3 separate regions of the Homo sapiens genome follow, and regions 2 and 3 are each linked to region 1. The links are contacts of gene promoters, found by promoter capture Hi-C in human tissues and cell types (Jung and others, 2019). All regions are on one chromosome and are shown on one strand. Each heading gives the region's core, a stretch centred on a gene start or on the middle of the fragment in contact. The rest is flanking DNA. Distances are from core to core; before and after follow the strand shown. Region 1 holds the start of RAB8A (RAB8A, member RAS oncogene family). Region 2 holds the start of NDUFB7 (NADH:ubiquinone oxidoreductase subunit B7). Region 3 holds the start of OR1I1 (olfactory receptor family 1 subfamily I member 1).

Region 1 (4,608 bases), core at 1,501-4,000:
AGGTGGGCGGTCACGAGGTCAGGAGTTCGAGACCAGCCTGGCCAACATGGTGAAACCCCATCTCTACTAAAAAAAAAAAAAAAAAAATACAAAAATTAGCTGGGCATGGTGGCAGGTGCTTGTAATCCCAGCTACTTGGGAGGCTGAGACAGGAGAATCGCTGGAACCTGGGAGGTGGAAGTTGCAGTGAGCCGAGATCGCGCCACTGCACTCCAGACTGGGTGACAAAGAGAGACTGTCTCAAAAAAAAAAAAAAAAAAAGAGGGGGGTTTGTGGGGAAGGCTGGGAAACTGGGATCTGAGTGAATGCAAGCCAGTCTGCTCACAGTTAACATCATTTCTTTCTTTCTTTTATTTTTATTATTATTTTTTAAGACAGGGTCTCGCTCTGTTGCCCAGGCTGGAGTGCAGTGACACCATCACAGCTCACTGCACCTTGACCTCCTGGGCTCAATCGATCCTCCCACCTTGGCCTCCCAAGTGGCTGGGTCTACATGGGTGAGCCACTGTGCCCGGCTGATTTTATTTTATTTTTTGTAGAGATGGGGTTTGCCATGTTGCCCAGGCTGAATTAACGCCACTTCTTGATTGGTTGGAGCACAAGAATTACCCTAAAGTTTAGCCTTGGAGTGGGGGAGGGGGAAGAATTCAGAAACATCTGTCTTCAGAGGCTGGATGCTGTCACTGCAGGAGCCATTCATTTGCTTCCTCTAGATAGCCTCTGGTTGTGGTGACAACCCCTTATTGTCTAATTCTAATCCTCAACCACCAGGGCACTAGGCTGGGCAGACAGTGTCACTCCTGCTCTAAAGACAGCAGGGCTCAGAGAGGGGTAGTGCACATTCAAGGGCAAACAGCAACTGGAAACCAGACGTAATGATTTCCAGTCAATTCTCTCTATTTTACATCTGGCATATAACTGTTTTATAAAGCACAGCTCCGCTGGGTGCGGTGGCTCATGCTTGTAATCCCAGCACTTTGGGATGCCAAGGCAGGCAGATCACAAGGTCAGGAGTTCGAGACCAGCCTGACCAACACAGTGAAACCCTGTATTTACTAAAAATACAAAAATTAGCTGGACGTGGTGGCGGGTGCCTATAATCCCAGCTACTAGGGAGGCTGAGGCAGGAGAATTGCTTGAACCCGGGAGGCAGAGGTTGTAGTGACCCGAGATCCTGCCGCTGGATTCCAGCCTGGGCAAAAGAGCTAGACTCCGTCTCAAAAAATAAAATAAAATAAAATAAATAAAGCATAGCTCCTGGAGGAGGGCAAGAATGGAATTAGCACATTATCTTGGGGTTCAGGGAGATAACACGATTCTGTCAAAGTGACACAGTAAAGCAAAGGCCATTCCCTAGGTTTTCTTGAGTCGGAATAAACTCCTGGACTTAGTGACCGTTCCCCCACTTTCCCCATCCCTAGCAGGGCTACAGAGCTCACAAGCCACTCAAATAGGTGTTACTCCTGGGTCAAACCTTTTCATTGTGGGCCAGGACTGCTTTTGTGGCACTGAGAGAGGTCAGCTCCACTTCTGTGGACATCACAACTGAGATGCACCAAGCCAATTCTGTTCAACCACAATGTGGGCTGGCCCTACAGGAAAAGCTGTTCTAAAGTGACAGCTGGAGTCTTGGGCCCTTTGATAGGGAAGTCAAGGCTGTCTGTGGCAGTGGCTGATTTAGTTTCTCGCTGAGGCTTTTATCTTGCATCTTCTTGGGGATGACAGGTCCCAGGGCAGGCAGTGCTGTCACTTGCCATTGCTGTCATTCCTGGAGCAGGATGAAAGGTGGGCAGGGAAAAGGTCCTGACTCTTCTTATCATTCCTTCTAGAGGAAAATACGCTTATGAGGGGAAGCATGGTCAGGGAGAGGGGCTCAACCTCTGAACGCTCCAGAGAAAAGAGCAGGAATGGTGTGGGTTAGAGTCCCGGCTCCAAGGTGCATTAGCTGAGCTTGTCATCAGCTGGGAGTGTGCAGTGGCATCTCTCTAGGAGAGCTAAGCCTCGAGTTTTGGGTTGAGACACAGCCAGGTTCAAATTCCATCAAATCCCATTCTCACCACGTGCAGACTGTGTGGCCTTGGGCAAGTTCCATGCCCTCCCTGAGCCTCAGATTCCTCATCTTGTCAGACGGGCTCATAACAGCACTTAACACCAAGAACTGAAGAGTGTGAAAATGCACGTGAAGCACTTGGCACATAGTAAATGCTCATTAAGGTGAGATGCCACTGTCTTTTTCCCATGGCCAATTCCCCATGACTCAGTTTCCACTTCTGTAAGGCAAGAGCCTCAAAAGAACCGCTTCGAGGGCTGCTGCTAGGACAGATCGAGAGGACGGGCGCGAAGACCCCAGCCCAAGACATAACACGCCCTAACGAGCGGGCTGAGGGTCGGAGCCTCAGTCTCCCTATCTGCAAAATGGGCACCTGGTCTCCCCCACCACGGCCCAGGAACCCCCGAACGGCGGTGCAGGCGACTGCTCTTCTCCCTTTAGGCCCCCTCGACCCTCTCAGCGCCCTCGGCCCGTCCAGCCCTGTAGATCCCTCAGCCCCAGCCCCTCAGGGGCGCGCCCAGCCCGGGCCTCCGGCGCCCCCAGCCATTCCCCGGTCCCGTTACCTATGGTGGAGATAAAAGTGGAGTTGAAGGCGTCCTCGGAGAAGCGGAACAGGACACAGGTCTTCCCCACCCCCGAGTCCCCGATCAGCAGCAGCTTGAACAGGTAATCGTAGGTCTTCGCCATATTACACTCTCTCCCCGACGGGAAGTGCGGCCAGCGCCTCTCCACTGGCCACCAGCACCGTCCATCAGCACCGAGCCCGCCCCTTATTGGCTCCAGGCCCGCTGCGCGTCACCGCGGCCGACGCCCGCCCCTGCGTCCCGCCAGTCGCGGGGAGACCTTGGGAGGGGGCGAGCGGAGCGCGGAGCCGGAAGCAGCCCGAGCGCACCTCCCATTGGCCGGCACTAGGGAGAGCACGGGCTCTGATTGACCAGCAGTGAAGAGTCGCGGGGCTTCAAATGGGGACGAGGCGGGGGCGTGGCATTATGTGGCCCCCGCCTTCCACCCCCGACTCGGGCGGCCCGGCCCCGCCCCACTGTAGGAGAGGGAAGGCAGGGAGCGGCGCCAACCGCTCGCGCGCCGGCAGCCTGGCGGGGCGTGGCTTGGGGTGCGTGCGCACGCGCGCCCGGAGTTCCGTTAGGCGACAGCAGAGGGCGCACGCCAGTAGTTGGGGCGGGTGTCTCTGGGTCCCGCCCTCACAGCTCGCGCAGGCGCAGTAGGCACCGAGGCGAGCGCGGGAAAGCAAGGTAGCGCTCTCAGCCTTGTCTGCGGCCTGCGAGTCGGGGCAGTGGGGGCCTAGGGAGGAAGGAGAGAGGAGGAGCTGTATACTCGAAAAGTGACCCAAGCCGGACGCGGTGGTTCACGCCTTTAATTCCCACACTTTGGGAAGCCGAGGCGCGTGGATCACGAGGTCAGGAGTTCAAGACCAGCCTGGCCAAGATGGTGAAACCCCGTTTCTACTAAAAATACAAAAATTAGCCGGGCGTGGTGGCGGGCGCCTGTAATCCCAGCCACTCGGGAGGCTGAGGCAGAGAATTGCTTGAATCTGGGAGGCGGAGCTTGCAGTGAGCCGAGATCGCGCCATTGCACTGCAGCGTGGGCGACAGAGAGAGACTCCGTCTCAAAAAAAATAAATAAAAGTGACCCAAGACGAGCTCCGAGGTCTGCGGCCTAGCGATCTGCTTAGAGATACCCAAGGCCTCCGCCATCTGAGCGGCTTCACCGCCACAAGCTGTGCCCGGAAGCGCGCGCCGGCCTCCTCAGGGCCCGCCCTCGGCCACCTTAGGGGTTGTCCGGGCCAGCCCGGGGATGGTGGGGGGGGAGGGGTTAGAGCAGTGAGGATGCTGGGTCCTATCTAGGGGCCAGGGCTCTCAACGTTGAAAAAACTGGCCGGGGCGTTGGCTCCCGTCTGTGATCCCAGTGCTTTGGGAAGCCAGGAGGTTGAGGGTGCAGTAAGCCGTGATCGCCCCACTGCAATTCGGCCTGGGCGACAGAGCAAGACCCTATCAAAAGAAAAAAAGGCTGGGCGCGGTGGCTCAGGCCTGTAATCCCGCACTTTGGGAGGCCGAGGCGGGCGGATCAGGAGGTCAGGAGATCGAGACCATCCTGGCTAACGCGGTGAAACCCCGTCTCTACTAAAAACACAAAAAATTACCCGGGAGTAGTGGCGGGCGCCTGTAGTCCCAGCTACTCGGGAGGCTGAGGCAGGAGAATGGTGTGAACCCGGGAGGCGGAGCCTGCAGTGAACCGAGATCGCGCCACTGCACTCCAGTCTGGGCGACAGAATGAGACTACGTCTCAAAAAAAAAAAAAAAAAAAAAAAGAAAGAGAAAAACAGAGGAGAGATACATTTGGAAAATCGGGCTTGCAGCTGGGTGTGGTGGCTCAGGCCTGTAATCCCAGCACTTTGGGAGTCAGCACTTTGGGAGGCAGGAGGATTGCTTGAGCTTAGGAGGTCAAGACCAGCCCGGACAAGATAGGGAGATCCCCATCTCTACAACAAATAAAATTAGCTGGGCGTCATGGTGCACGCTTGTAATCCCAGCACTTTGGGA
Region 2 (4,608 bases), core at 1,172-3,671, 1.5 Mb after region 1:
CTGAAGCACAGAGAAAGGAAGATTAAGGAGACACGCCCAGAACACGTCAGGGTTACTGGATGCAGCTGTGCAGGCTGTGCACGGCACAACTCCAGAAGCACCATTCATAGAGATCACAATGTGAATGCTGCCCCCTTGAGTCTAGAAGGGCACAAGAATCACAGATTAATGTGGTGGCCTGGAGATAGGGACAGGTCACACAGGTAGCCCTGGAAAGAAGGTCTCAGCTGGACGCAGTGGTTCAAGCCTGTAATCCCTGCACTTTGGGAGGCCGAAGCGGGTGGATCACCTGAGGTCAGGAGTTCAAGACCAGCCTAGCCAACATGATGAAACTCCGTCTCTACTAAAAATACAAAAAAATTATTTGGGAGGCCAAGGCGGGCGGATCACAAGGTCAGGAGATCAAGACTATCCTGGCTAACACGGTGAAACCCCGTCTCTACTAAAAATACAAAAAAAGTAGCCGGGCGTGGTGGCGGGCGCTTGTAGTCCCAGCTACTCGGCAGGCTGAGGCAGGAGAATGGCGTGAACCCGGGAGGCGGAGCTTGCAGTGAGCCGAGATTGCGCCACTGCACTCCAGCCTGGGCAACGGAGCAAGACTCCGTCTCAAAAAAAAAAAAAAAAAAATTAGCTGGCCGTGATGGCACCCACCTGTAATCCCAGCTACTTAGGAGGCTAAGGCAGGAGAATCGCTTGAAACCAGAAGGCGGAGGTTGCGGTGAGCCGAGATCACACCACTGCACTCCAGCCTGGGCAACAAGAGTGAAACTCTGTCTCAAAAAAAAAAAAAAAAAAGAAAGAAAAAGAAAAGTCTCTATTGCCAGTTGTCTATTCTCAATAGCTTGCTTTTTTCACTTAATATATCAGCAGCCACTTCCCCATGTCAACACATAAAGATCTAGTTGAGTAATTCTCCCAAAGCTGGTCACTAGACCAGCAACATCACATCACCTGGGAATTTTTATAGACAGGGTCTCACTCTGTTGCCTAGGCTGGAGTGCAGTGATGGGATCACGGCTCACTGCAGCCTGGAACTCCTGGGCTCAAGTTATCCTCCTGCCTCAGCCTCCCGAGTAGCTGGGACTACAAGCGTGCACCACCACACCCAGCTTTTTTTTTTTTTTTTTTTTTTGTAGAGATAGAGTCTCCCTATATTGCCCAGGCTGGTCTCAAACTCCTGAGTTCAGGCGATCCTCCCATCTCAGCTTCCCAAAGCTCTGAGATTACAGGTGTGAGCCACTGCCCTGGCCCATATTTTTTTTTTTCCATTAGACTGTTTTTCTGTTCCATTAGACTGTAAGCTTGAAAGACAGGAACCACGTCTGCCTTTCTGTCTGACCACTGGACCCAGCATACCATACAGTAGATGCCTAATACATGCTTTGTCAGACTGGGGAAAAATATATATTAGATATTAATATTAGATATTAATATATTTTAAAATTGTATAAAGATTGCATATATATATATAATTTATTTGAAATTTCAGCTTTAAATAATTGTTTTTGACCAGGCACAGTGGCTTACGCCCATAATCCCAACACTTTGAGAGGCTGAGGCGGGAGGATCCCTGGAGCCCAAGAGTTCAAGGTTGCAGTGAGCTATGATTGTGCCACTGTGCTCCAGCCTGGGCGACAGAATGAGACCCTATCTCAAAAAATAATAATATAATAATAACTGTATTTATGAATAACTTTTATTTAAATTAAATTTATCAAAATCTTTCTTGGACAGGCACTGTGGCTCATGCCCGTAATCCCAGCAATTTGGGAGGCTGAGGCGGGGGAATCACTTGAGGTCAGGGGTTCGAGACCAGCCTGGCCAACTGGCGAAACCCCGTCTCTACTAAAAATACAAAAATTAGCTGGGGGTGGTGGCGGGCGCCTGTAATCCCAGCTACTCAGGAGGCTGAGGCAAGAGAATTTGAGCCCAGGAGGTGGAGGCTGCAGTGAGCCGAGATCGCGCCAATACACTCCAGTCTGGGCGACAGGTACTGTGTCTCCAAAAACAAAAAATTCTTAAAGTGACTTTATGCAAAATTACATACATTAACGATATAATAGATATCGTGCCTTTTTTAAGAGAAATTTGAATGTTTTCAAAGAAAAAACTTTTTGGAAAATGATATGAAAAATAATTTTAATATGTGCTTTAGCCTCGGGCTACCAGAAGAGCCCCAGATAGGGTCGAGGGAGGCCTCAGTCCCACACCGTCCCCTTCTGCCCCGCCCAGATGGATTTCCAGGCTCAGGGAAGTCCCCTCTCGGGTCCAACCATATCCTGCGAAGAGACACAGCACCTGTCCCGCCTCCGCCTGTCCGCGAGGTGACGCCAGGCGGACCGGAGCGATCCTCTGGAGTCCTTCATCTCTATGATCTCCGCAGCTGCCTAAATGACCCGGAAGCTGTGTCTGACTGAGGGGTCAGTGGTTCCGGGTAGGAGCTAGGTGACCCTCGGCTGCTGCAGGGATCTGCAGCGACTGCAGCCATGGGGGCCCACCTGGTCCGGCGCTACCTGGGCGATGCCTCGGTGGAGCCCGACCCCCTGCAGATGCCAACCTTCCCGCCAGACTACGGCTTCCCCGAACGCAAGGAGCGCGGTGAGGCCCAGTGCGCAGGCGCAGCCAGAGGGCGTGGGGCGCGGGTGCCTGAACACCTGGCACCCCAGGGCTGGCACCCCAGGGCTGGGCTCTAACCTCAGGTGTTGTATCTGGGTTTGGGTCTAGACTAGGAGTCCACAGGACGTGCATGACCCCACCTCAGTGTGGAGGCGTTCCAGCCCAAGGGCACGGCTTGAGCAAAAGCCAGGGAGCAAAAGTGAGGCGACAAGTGGGGGTTCGGGCAGGAATGCGACGCGCAGAGCTGGGTCGAGTCTTTTTTTTTTTTCTTTTGAGACGGAGTCTCGCTTTTTCTTTCAGGCTGGAGTGCAGTGGCTTGGTCTCGATTCACTGGCAGCCTCCACCTCCCGGGTTCAAGCGATTCTCCTGCCTCAGCCTCGCGAGTAGCTGTGATTACAGATGTGTACCACCATGCCCAGCTACTTTTTTGTATTGTTAGTAGAGACGGGGTTTCTCCTTGTTGGCCAGGCTGCTCTTGAACTCCTGACCTCAAGTGATCCGCCCGCCTCGGCCTCCCCAAGTGCTGGGATCGCAGAAGTCAGTCACCACGCCCGGCCTCGGGCCAAGTCTTGGGGGACGTGGGGAGTCATGGGAGGGCAGGGACACGTTCATTGTACCCCCTTCCTGATGTCACTGCAATTGTGGGGTATGCACAAGGAAATAAGGAAGATTCGAGCTGCAAATACTGTCCTGCAAAGTGCTTTGTTTTGCTTTGAGACGGGATCTTGCTCTGTTGCCCAGGCTGAGTGTAGTGGCACAATCACAGCTCATTGCATCCTCGACCTCCTGGGCTCAAATGATCCTCCCGCCTCAGCCTCCCGAGTAGCTGGGACTACAGGAGCGCCCCAGGATGCCAGACTGATTTTTTATTTTTTGTAGAGTTGGGGGTCTTGCTGTGTTGCCCAGGCTGGTCTCAAACTCCTGGGCTCAAACGATCCTTCTGCCCAGCCTCCCAAAGTGCTGGGATTGAAGATGTGAGCCACTACGCCCAGGATGGTTTTTTGGTTCGTGTGTTTGTTTTTGCTTTTAATGTAGTAATATCACAGGCATACCGAGCACCAGCTCTGGGCCACGTCCCACATTAGGCACCGCGGATACAGCAGGGAACTGGAGGGATGCAGGCACTGTCTCCAGAGAACTCAGCACAGTGGGAAAGATTGTGGAATCAGGCAGAGCTGGGGGTGTCAAAGCAGGCTTCCAAGAGGCAGTGGCTGGAAACAAAGACGTGAAGGGTGGCCGGTCGTGGTGGCTCATGCCTGTAATCCCAGCACTTTGGGAGGCTAAGGCGGGCAGATCACCTGGGGTCAGGAGTTTGAGACCAGCCTGGCCAACATGGTGAAACACCATCTCTACTAAAAATATAAAAATTGAGGCCGGGCATGGTGTCTCACACCCATAATCCCAGCACTTTGGGAGGCCGAGGCGGGCAGATCACGAGGTCAGGGGATTGAGACCATCCTGGCCAATGTGGTGAAACCCTGTCTCTACTAAAAATACAAAAATTAGCCAGGGGCGTGGTGGTGCACACCTGTAGTCCCAGCTACTCAGGAGGCTGAGGCAGGAGAATCGCTTGAACCCAGGAGGCAGAGGTTATAGTGAGCCGAGATCACACCACTGCACTCCAGCCTGGGCGACAGAGCAAGACTCCATCTCAAAAACAAAATACAAAAATTAAGCCGGGCACGGTGGCTTATGCCTGTAATCCCAGCACTTTGGGAGGCCAAGGCCGGTGGATCACCTGAGGTCAGGAGTTTGAGACCAGCCTGGCCAACATGGTGAAACCCCGTCTCTACTCTACTAAAAATACAAAAATTAGCCAGGTGTGGTGGCGCATGCCTGTAATCCCAGCTGTCTGGGAGGCTGAGGCAGGAGAATTGGCTGGAACCCAGGAGGCAGAGGTTGCAGTGAACCAAGGTCAGGCCACCACACTCCAGCCTGGGTGACAGAGCGAGACTGTCTGAAAAAACAAAACAAAACAAAACAAAGATGTGA
Region 3 (4,608 bases), core at 766-3,265, 1.0 Mb after region 1:
GTGTTAGCTACAATTTACAGTGAGCAGACTGGGGCTGAGCGAGCTGCCAGGGGCACTCAGCTTGCAAGTGCCTGATCTCGCCTTTGAATTTAGACTTATTTTCACTCTCATACTCCACTGCCTCCCTAAGAATGGCCACTCTCACCTCTTTATGAGGCATTTCGAAGCTAAATTCTGTGCTGTCAACACGTGCAAGGGAAAAATATTCAATTACAAGCATTTACACGTGTTTCTTTTCGAGACAGAGTCTCACTCTGTCACCTAGGCTAGAGTACAGTGGCACGATCTCGGCTCACTGCAACATCCGTCTCCTGGGTTCAAGTGATTCTTGTGCCTCAGCCACCCGAATAGCTGGGATTACAGGTGTGCATCACCACGCCCGATTAATTTTTGTATTTTTAGTAGAGACGGGGTTTCGCCTCTACTAAGCCTGTTGGCCAGGCTGGTCTTGAACTCCTGACCCGGTGATCCGCCCACCTTGGCCTCCCAAAGTACTGAGATTACAGGCGTGAGCCCAGTAATCTCATCATTTCAGCGCCCAGCCGATGAAAGGGGTTTTTAGGAAGGTTAGCAGCATAATCTCCTTGGTAACCCCAAGAGGCCTTCAGCAAAGCCCTATGTTAACTTTTTGAGGCTTTTTAGTGTTGGACTTGAGGTTTTTGCAATGCAATGCTTGGTTTTCTCTAGGCTGGATAGAATACTGCGATTCCCTTCCTGGCAACATATTTGTAACAGTCCTCAGTTGTTGACTTGGGTTGCATAGAGCAGCGGTTCTCAACCTTGAGCACGCTTCAGGGTCACCTGGAAGGCTTGTTAAAACACAAAAAGCGGGCCAGGCATGGTGGCTCACACCTGTAATCCCAGCACTTTGGGAGGCTGAAGTGGGAGAATTGCTTGAGGCCAGGAGTTCAAGACCAGCCTGGCAGACAAAGTGAGGCCACCCCACCCCCAATCCCGCCCTGGATCTACAAAAAATAAAACAATCTGCTGGGCATGGTGGCATGCTTCCATAGTCCCAGCTACTCAGAAGGCTGAGGTGGGAGAATCCCTTGAGTCCAGGAGTTAGAGACCAACCTGGGCAACACAGTGAGACCCCCATCTCTACAAAATAAAAAATTAGCTGGACATGGTGGCACACACCTGTTAGTCCCAGCTGCTTGGGGGGCCAAGGTAGGAGGATCTCTTGAGCCCGGGAGTGTGAGACCATCCTGGGCAACATAGGAAGATCCCTGCCTCTACGAAAATAAAATTAGCCAGGCATGGTGGTATATGTCTGTTATCCCAGGTACCCGGGAGGCTGAGGAGGGAGGATCACTTGAGCTTGGGAGGTCGAGGCTGCGATGAGCTATGATAATGCCACTGCACTCCAGACTGGGCAACAGAGCGAGACCCTGTCTCAAAAACAGAAAGAACAAACAAACAAACAAAACAATCCCCCCGCCCCCTCCCCCCCGCTCCCAAACTCATCATACACAAAAAGCTAAGCCCTTTCCCTGAAATGTCTGGTGTAAGAACCAGCACTTCTAGATAGTTTCCAGAGGATGCTGGTGCTTCTAGCCCAGGGACCACACTTGGGGAGCTGCTGCATTGGAGAAACTTGTTTCTCAAGACCTCTCCTATCTGTGCAGGTGTCCTGCAGCTGCAGACCCTCAGTGCTTTTCCTCCACATATCCTGCCACAGAGGGTCTGCCGTCTGCGTGCTTTGTCCACTCAGAGAGTCTAGACTTGGTCTCAGTCTCTTCTCTCTCTCTCGGCCTCTAGGAAGGAGACAGATTCCTCTCCCACAACCCTCCACCCCCACCCTCAGCTCAATCCTTTCCCCATCCCTCACCTGCTCACCAGGATGGCATCACCAAGGGGAGGGTCCCGGGAAGCCTCCTTCTCCACCAACTGCTAGAGGATCCCGAGGTCAGCACTAAACCCCTAGGAAGGGCATGGGGGCTACTCACCTGTGATCGCTGGGGTTAGCCTGATGTCTATGGGAAGGATTCATATGTGTACCCCCCCGCCCCCAGACTCTGCAGGTGAGTGGGGGAGCCAGGGGAACATCAGGGTATTTATAGTCTGGGGACTCTAGGAGACTTCGTCCCCATAGCTCCTTGTTAAGGAAGCGGATGCTAATTATTTTGTTTCTCCTCTGCCACATGTGACCTGTTCTTTTGGAGATGGGTGTGCTTTGGGATCATCGAGTGGGTAAGAAGAGGAAACAGTGACTAGGGATTCACTCTCACTAGGACATCTCCCTACGGTCTCCTTCCAGCTCAGGCTGAGCTTCATGGAAGCTCCCAGGCAGAGAGGTCTGGGGGGTCCCAGACTCCAGTCGGGCACTCAGATGCCTGAATCTGAGAGGTCCTTTCATTCATTGCATTATGGAAGAAACTGGCTCATTAAGGAAAGCTCCGAAGAGTATCAATCAATCAATAAATCGGTATTAAATAAATAAATTTATCAAACACTTTTTTTTGAGATGGAGTGTCACTCTTTCACCCAGCCTGGAGCACAGTGGAGCAATCTCGGCTCACTGCAACCTCCACCTCCTGGGTTCTAGCAATTCTCCCTCCTCAGCCTCTTGAGTAGCTGGAATTACTGGTGCCCACCACCATGCCCAGCTAGTCTTTGTATTTTTAGTAGAGACAGGGTTTCACCATGTTGGAAAGACTGATCTCAAACCTCAAGTGATCTGCTCTCCTCGGTCTCCCAAAGTGCTGGGATTACAGGCCTGAGCCACTGTACCCGGCCTATCAAACACTTCTTGATCACCTGCTTGGCACTGGAGTTGGACACGGTGGCTCATGCCTATAATCCTAGCTACTTGGGAGGCCAAGGTTGGAGAATCCCTTGAGCCTAGAAGTTTGAGACCAGCTTGGGCAAAACAGCAAGACCTTATATCTACAAAAAATTTAAAAAAATTAGCCAGGATTGGTGGCACATGCCCGTGGTCTCAGTTACCCAGGAGGCTGAGGTGGGAGGATCACTTGAGCCCTGGAGGTTGAGGCTGCAGTGAGCTGTGATCGCACCACTGCATTCCAACCTGGACAACGGAGTGAGACCCTGTCTCTTAAAAAAAAAATCCTTCCTATCAGCCACACAGAACGTGTGTAGGATACTTGTTGAAATTCTCCTAGGGGCTTTAGTAAATATTAGAATTACTTTCCCTAATAATATTGGCTGTTGGACTGTTGGCTCTTGGATCGTAACTCTGTGGGGAGGTCAGCTTCAAAGCAAGAACAAGGTAGACCAACTTCGCGTTGGACATATGGGGATATGAGTAGGTGCCAATCCCACTGTCATTATTTTTTTAAAATTAAAATTATTTTCAGAGGCTGGGCATGGTGGTTCACACCTGTAATCCTAGCACTTTGGGAGGCCGAGGCAGGTGGATCAATTTAGCTCAGGAGTTTGAGACCAGCCCGGCCAACATGGTGAAACCCTGTCTCTACTAAAAATACAAAATTAGCTGGACGTGCCTATAGTCCCAACTACTCAGGAGGCTGAGGTGGGAGGATCCCTTGAGCCCGGGAGGTGAAGTTTGCAGCAAGTTGAGATCATGCCACTGCACTCCAGCCTGGGTGACAGAGTGAGACCTTGTCTCAAAAAAAAAAAAAAAATCAATTTGAGCCCAAAGGTTGGGGAAAAACCCACCTAAAAAGTCCATAAGGTGGCCAGACATGGTGGCTCACACCTGTAATCCCAGCACTTTGGGAGGCTGAGGCGGGTGGATCACTTGAGGTCGGGAGTTCGAGACCAGCCTGGGAAAAATGGTGAAACCCAGTCTCTACTAAAAGTACAAAAATTAGCTGGGCATGGTGGGTGGGCATCTGTAATCCTAGCTACTTGGGAGGCTGAGGCAGGAGAATCACTTGAACCTGGGAGGCGAAGATTGCAGTGAGCCGAGATTGTGCCACTGCACTCCAGCCTGGGTGACAGAGCAAGACTCCATCTCAAAAAAAAAAAAAAAAAAAAGTCCCACTGGGTGAACAAACTTTTGCCACTGTCCGTGGTTCTGAAAAAAAATTATTTTGCCCAAAGCCATGGTAGGTAGGACATTGGTGTCTCCCATCCGAACTCTCCTGGGAATTCTGAAACCAGTTATAGAAGGAAGAGTGAAGAGAGATAAGGAGGAATAAAAGATATATTCAGGAAGAAAAAAGCCTTTCTTTTTGATATGACTCTATAGAAAATGTTATCAAAAATAACATTTCCCCCCCTGGGAAATTGGTATAAGGCAGGGCCAGTTATACACTCCCAGAGTCCAGTTTTCTAGTCATGTTGGTTTGGAGTCCAGTGCTGATTGCTTTGGGAAAATCTTAGAGTCTTTATGTGGCAATGAGTCTGGTACCAGGAAACCATCAATGAACATTGGGAGGGAGGAAGAAGGGGGTGGTCTACTTCATTCTATCCTCTCTAGGAGTGAGGTCCAGATTTCTTCTCTCAGCATCTTGGGCTTCAGCCACTCTCCACCCATTCTTCCAAGCACAAATGCTTTTTTTAAAATCCAACACCTAAAAGGTTTTTATATAGTCCCTGATTTTCTTCCTTGATTAGAATCTAGGAGAGATGGGGATTCCTGAATTCTGGCAAGGGTCAAGGGCTCCTGATGTGGCAGTG

What was found. Contacts are between HindIII fragments. The study calls those that stand out against the background at their distance.
Region 2: the fragment with the promoter of NDUFB7 here is called in contact with the fragment with the promoter of RAB8A in region 1 in 2 of the 25 tissues and cell types used here (H1 embryonic stem cells and dorsolateral prefrontal cortex).
Region 3: the fragment with the promoter of OR1I1 here is called in contact with the fragment with the promoter of RAB8A in region 1 in 1 of the 25 tissues and cell types used here (heart left ventricle).

What each region holds. Positions count from the first base shown.
Region 1 is chr19:16,110,031-16,114,638 of GRCh38, reverse strand. RAB8A (RAB8A, member RAS oncogene family) reads right to left here and starts at 2,750. Exons shown (of 8, transcript NM_005370.5): 1 at 2,614-2,750. The coding sequence starts at 2,737. RefSeq lists a silencer at 2,708-3,367. The HindIII fragment of the contact is 16,619 bases long and covers 1-4,608 here.
Region 2 is chr19:14,569,879-14,574,486 of GRCh38, reverse strand. It overlaps NDUFB7 (NADH:ubiquinone oxidoreductase subunit B7), which reads left to right and starts at 2,421. Exons shown (of 3, transcript NM_004146.6): 1 at 2,421-2,598. The coding sequence starts at 2,487. RefSeq lists an enhancer at 2,200-2,489. The HindIII fragment of the contact is 12,939 bases long and covers 1-4,608 here.
Region 3 is chr19:15,079,618-15,084,225 of GRCh38, reverse strand. OR1I1 (olfactory receptor family 1 subfamily I member 1) reads right to left here and starts at 2,015. Exons shown (of 2, transcript NM_001004713.2): 1 at 1,950-2,015. The HindIII fragment of the contact is 16,029 bases long and covers 1-4,006 here.